Regions from separate parts of the Homo sapiens genome. Here region 1 is linked to region 2. Evidence: promoter capture Hi-C in 16 types of primary human blood cells and fetal thymus (Javierre and others, 2016). All regions are on one chromosome and are shown on one strand. The core of a region is centred on a gene start or on the middle of the fragment in contact, and the rest is flanking DNA. Distances in the headings are between cores, read along the strand shown.

Region 1 (2,999 bases), core at 152-2,651, 120 kb after region 2:
ACAAAAGAACTCTATTTTATTGTAATGTAAAGGTTTTCTTCAGTTTTCAAGCTCATCTACTTCCTACAATCTAGAAAAAAAAAAAAAGGCTGAGACACCAGATTTAGCACTTTTTTTTTTTTTGAGGTGGAGTCTCACTCTTTTGCCAGGCTAGAGTGCAGTGGCACGATCTCTGCTCACTGCAACCTCCGCCTCCCAGGTTGAAGCGATTCTCCTGCCTCAGCCTCCCGAGTAGCTGGGACTACAGGCATGCGCCAGCACGTCCAGCTAATTTTTGTGTTTTTAGTAAAGACGGGGTTTCACCACGTTGGCCAGGATGGTCTCAATCTCTTGACCTCATGATCCACCTGCCTCGGCCTTCCGAAGTGCTGGGATTACAGGTGTGAGTCACTGCACCCAGCCAGCACCATTTATAATAAAATTTATAACATTGAAAATGTTGACTGGGCACAGTGGCTCACCCCTGTAATCCCAACACTCTGGGAGACTGAGGCAGGAAGATTGCTTGAGCCCAGGAGTTCAAGACCAGCCTGAACAACACAGAGAGGCCCTATCTTTACGAAAAAAAAAAAAAAAAATTAACCTGCGGTTCCAGCTACTTAGGAGGCTGAGGCAGGAGGATCACTTGAGCCCAGGAGTTCAAGGCTTTAGTGAGCTATGATTGCACCATTGCACTCCAGCCCGGGCAATAGATCAAGACTCTGTCTCAAAAAGACAAAACAAAACAAAAAAATCAAATCTGTCTCGTCATTAGACCTGGGATGAATCATTCCCCTACAACATACCATTGAAACGCTGAAAATTTAGATGTAAAAAAGCCTTCCCTATTCCCTTCTGGGAATTCCTCTGTGACCACTCACTTCTTCCTACTTCTTCCTCCCCACTCCCCAACCAGGGTAGGAAAATGTCTGTGTGCACCGACAATGTCACTGACCTCCGGATTCCTGAGGGTGAGTCAGGGTTCTCCAAATCTATCACAGCCTACGTCTGCCAGGCAGTCATCATCCCCCCAGAGGTGACAGGCTACAAGGCCGGGGTTTCCTCACAGCCTGTCAGCCTTGCTGATCGACTTATTGGTGAGTAACTCCGCTGCCTCAGCCTTGTTTGAGAGTGTGTGTGTGTGTGTGTGTGTGTGTATGTGTAAGAGAGTGTGAGGTTACCAGTCTGGGAGGTAAAAGGCCCCACATGAGGGGCCCAACCTCTTGACCTGTGTTTTCTATTCCACTCTGTGTGCAAAGTGCTCCCAGGGACTCTGACAAACCCTTGTTTCACCCTTTCATAAGCCACTCAGGGATGTGATGAGATGAAGTGAGGTTGGATGTTGACAGGTATTGGAAGAATTGAAGTGGTTGCCAGCTAATGCTACTAGTGAGAACTAATTAGGAGCTCTAATTTGGCAGGGGTGACAACAGATATGACTCTGGATGGAATCACCTCCCCAGCTGAACTTTTCCACCTGGAGTCCTTGGGAATACCGGACGTGATCTTCTTTTATAGGTGAAGATGAGAGGCTAGGCTAATGCAAGTGAAACCTAGGACTCCTCCATAATTTCTGCTGCATCCCTCCCTCTCTAGCCACCTACTGCTTATCAAGCCAGAACATGTCTGAGGTCTAGCAGATCTGCCCAGTCATGATAGCTAAGGGCTGGGAGTTCCTGATCCCAGCTTCCTGGATATTACTGGAGCAGATCTGCCCTAGAGGCAAGGAGAAATATTGGATGATCTGCAGTGGACTTCCCTTCCAGCCTAAGCAGGCTCCAGTGTATGCTAGCCATGACTTTCCTAAACCAGGGCATTTCCCCCTTGACTACATATTGTTGATCCCCACCCTTTCCACGTATAAACCAAGGCCTGTGCACTCCCTGTGTGCCAGGCTAAAGCCCAAGTCCTGACTTCCCCAGCAAGGGAATTGCTCCATGCGGATTTCTCTTGGTGGCTGTCCAATAACACAGCTGAGTGACTCATTCCCTCATGGGGGCTGGCTTTCTCTGCAGGTCCAATGATGTGACCCAGTCCTGCAGTTCTGGGAGATCAACCACCATCCGCGTCAGGTGCAGTCCACAGAAAACTGTCCCTGGAAGTTTGCTGCTGCCAGGGTAAGCCCTGCAAAGGGATGTAACAAAGGCCAAAATCTCCCTTGAAGTCATTCCATCCTGAGATCCAGAGATTACTGAAAAAGAGCAAAAAAGAAAAGAGTTTGAGATCCATTAATGGGTGCTTAGGGGCACAGTCATGGCCCCAGACCCTCAGTCTTCATATGGCAAGAATGGGGTAGAAGGAAGAGTGAAAGCTATTCTCATATTCCTGGTCCATTAAGGCAGCAGCTGCGTAGCATGGTAACCAACAGCTCGGCTGAGAGCCAGGTTGAATCATCTCCTCCACTAACCAGCTATGTTATCATGGATGCATTTCTTACCTTCTTTAGGCCTCTTTTTTCCATATCTGTAAAAATGGGCATAATGCTAAATTCCCTCAGCGGGTTGTTTTGAGGATTAAATGAGACAAGGAGACTTTAGGACGTTTCATGATCTCTGGCTATTATGAGGATTAGTAAAGGTTTAGGGATCCTAGGAATCTCTCTGCAACGAAAATACCCAGTTCTGAGGTTAATAGCTGAGTGAACTAAATCAAAAATTTCTAAATGAATATGACCACAGGACACCCCCTCCCCTCCCCGCATAACAGCAGCTAACATCTTGACGGGCACTAGCGTCTTGAGGAAGACGTTTTGGATATGCTGCGCCTAAACTGACTGGGGAGATGGGGAGCAAAGCAGGGCGTCTTGACCCAGTAGTGGTGTCTGAGTGTCAAATCCCTGTTCTTGCCATTGTAAACATCACAGTAAAGTACATAACAGGTATCCATACCGGAAGTTCATTCCTGAACCCCACCTCAACTCCAATCCCACCCCGAGGAAGCTGCATCAAAGTGGCTATTGCAAAATGTCACAAGTCTGTGGGGAGGACAGGAACCTCAAAGGGGTTGATGAGACAGCCATG
Region 2 (2,809 bases), core at 93-2,592:
TCCCAGCTACTCAGGAGGCTGAGGCAGGAGAATGGCATGAACCCGGGAGGCGGAGCTTGCAGTGAGCAGAGATTGCGCCACTGCACTCCAGCCTGGGCGACAGAGCGAGACTCCGTCTCAAAAAAAAAAAAAAAGCAATTTATACACACACACACAATTGGGGTTAGGATTGGTACTATCTGATTCAAAAGTTAAACAGAATTTGATAGGCTAGTCTGAGAATATTATCCCTACAGGGAAACATTCAAAGCAATAAAGCTACTTTGAAAGGACATGTCCAAAAGTTTTCATCATCTATAACAAAATCATTGTCAAATACTACTTACATTCTTTAGAAAAAAGTCTCTTTCTTTTACCCTGTCCACCTTCTGCACCTCCTCCAATTTCTTCATTTTCTTCCTCAAACTAGAAGTTAAAATGTATATATAGAAATGTCAAATAATTGCCTTGCATTTGATATTTTAATAATGACATTTTTTTTTCCTTTTCAACAGATAGGCCAGAAAGCCAAAGGAAGCAGCAAAAAAAAAAACCACGAAACCTTAGCATTGAAGGAGCCTATGTATCTAGTCCAACTTCCAACTCATGCAAAAATGGCTTCTACAATGTTCCTAACTAATAATCCTACTGCTTCTACTTGTAAGAGTTCCAATGACCATAAGTTTTATTTTTAAACAACTAAGGTGGCCTATTACTACTGTTACTGTTAAACAGTTGATACTGAATCAAAGTCTACCTTTGTAGACTTTGTAGTAAGCAAAACTAATATTTCCTATGCATTTGCTTATACAGTGCTAAAAACGTTCCTTAAGTAAGCCCGTAACCCTATTTTATAAAAAGAAAACTGATGTTCAAAGTTAAATAACTTGCTCAGAGAGAATGGAAATTTTGAAATCCAGGCTGTCTGACTTTCAATGCATTCTTTTCCCATTACTTCACAGTAAGTACAGTTTTGTTAACAATTGAACTGTTGGCTCATAGTGCGCGCTAATAGATGTTAGTTTTGATCTCTGATGATTCTGTACGTGTTTCAGTGTCTGGCAAATACAGACCAAAATCAAGGGGAAAGGGGTCACAAAACCTACTCTTCCTTCATGTCCTTCCCCACTTTCTAAAATGATCAATCCTTAGGGCGTGAAGTCCCCGAACTCTGTCCGCTGAATTCACTAAGGCAAGCAGACCCGATCCTGAACTCTGCCTCCGCTACTGAGCCCGAAGGAGTGAAGAAAAGACAGGTTTTGGACAGAGACGGTCACTCACCGTGGGGTCTTCTTCCTCATCTGCCATCCCACTAGCACGCCAACTCACAGCGTCCTGCCGGCTGGCTCCCAGCTGGTTACACTACTTCCGCCGCCTCACTTCCGGTGACGCGCGGGGCCGTAGCTGGGCCTAGCCCTCTGCGGCCTGCGGGAGGACGGTGGTGCTTTCCGGCCTAGCGGCGGAAATGCGACAGTCTCTAAGGGAGGAGGCCGGAGCGCCTCCCTGTAATCCCGAAGGAATTGAAAACTAACAAAGAAAAGGAAATCACGGGCTAGGTCGCGAGTATCTCGTTGTCACCCTGAATTTGCTACTGCGTATTGAATCACAGCTTCTTGTTTGGGGACTGCGAAGCTATGGATCATAGGAGGGCAAGCCAGCAGTCCTTTATCAGACAAATATGCTTTTAAATCATTTTAAAGATTTGTAGTTCCACTGTTTCTAAGCACTGTGTTAATTATTGGGGATACTGTGCTTCATCACAAATTTCCAAGAGATGGTGTCCCGAGACTAAGCATTTAAAATTTTGTGAAGGTTTTTTGATTTTTTTTTTTTTTTTTTTTGAGACGAAGTCTCACTCTGTCGCCCAGGCTGAAGTGTGCAGTGGCGCGATCCCGGCCCACTGCAACCTCTGCCTCCCGGGCTCAAGTGATTCTCCTTCCTCAGCCTCCCGAGTAGCTGGGATTACAGGCGTGCGCCACCATGCCCGGCCTTATTTTTGTTTTTTTGAGACACAACCTCACTGTCCCCCGGGATGGAGTGAAGTGGCGCAATCAGGGTTCACTGCAGCCTAGACCTGCTGGGCTCAAGCCATCCTCCCACCTCAGCCTCCAAGTAGCTGGGATTACAGGCGCACACCACCAATGCCCAGCTAATTTTTGTATTTTTAGTAGAGATGGGGTTTCCCCACATTGCCCAGGCTGGTCTGGAACTCATGGCCTCAAGCGATCTGCCCCGCTCTGCCTCCCAAAGTGCTGGGATTACAAGTGTGAGCCACCGTGTCCACCGGGGAAGGCTTTTGGTCAGAACAATGGCTGGCAAAACCACAGGCATCGGAAGGCCAGAGCTAGGGATATAATATAAATGTCCCTACAGTGTAACAGATGATGCTACATAAAGAAAATCCCGTAATACACACGATTTCTGAATGTCCTGCTGAACATTCGGTGAGTGAAAACTAATTATCTGAGAGTTGAACCTATCTTTGTTAATAAACACAAAGCGGCCGGGCGCAGTGGCTCACGCCTGTAATCCCAGCACTTTGGGAGGCCGAGGTGGGCGGATCACAAAGTCAGGAGATCAAGACCATCCTGGCCAACATGATGAAACCCCGTCTCTATTAAAAGTACAAAAATTAGCTGGGCGTAGTGGCGCACGCCTGTAATCCCAGCTACTCGGGAGGCTGAGGCAGGAGAATCGCTTGAACCCGGGAGGCAGAGGTTGCAGTGAGCCGGGATTGTGCCACTGCACTCCAGCCTGGTGACAGAGCGGGACTCCACCTCAAAAAATAAAAATTAAAAAAATAAACACAAAGCATTTTCCCACACTTTTA

What was found. Contacts are between HindIII fragments. The CHiCAGO score rates a contact against its expected background, and 5 or more counts as called.
Region 1: a fragment that was not itself captured here is called in contact with the fragment with the promoter of TAF13 in region 2 in 2 of 17 cell types (M2 macrophages and M0 macrophages); the score reaches 8.3 in M2 macrophages.

What each region holds. Positions count from the first base shown.
Region 1 is chr1:109,196,579-109,199,577 of GRCh38, forward strand. It overlaps ELAPOR1 (endosome-lysosome associated apoptosis and autophagy regulator 1), which reads left to right. Exons shown (of 22, transcript NM_020775.5): 16 at 896-1,076; 17 at 1,401-1,497; 18 at 1,995-2,096. Among named protein-coding and RNA genes, the nearest start is that of SARS1, 16 kb to the right of the region's middle. RefSeq lists an enhancer at 759-1,958. The HindIII fragment of the contact is 6,896 bases long and covers 1-2,999 here.
Region 2 is chr1:109,074,661-109,077,469 of GRCh38, forward strand. TAF13 (TATA-box binding protein associated factor 13) reads right to left here and starts at 1,343. Exons shown (of 4, transcript NM_005645.4): 1 at 1,261-1,343; 2 at 327-405. The coding sequence starts at 1,287. RefSeq lists enhancers at 1-586, 1,191-1,250, 1,351-1,600. The HindIII fragment of the contact is 13,771 bases long and covers 1-2,809 here.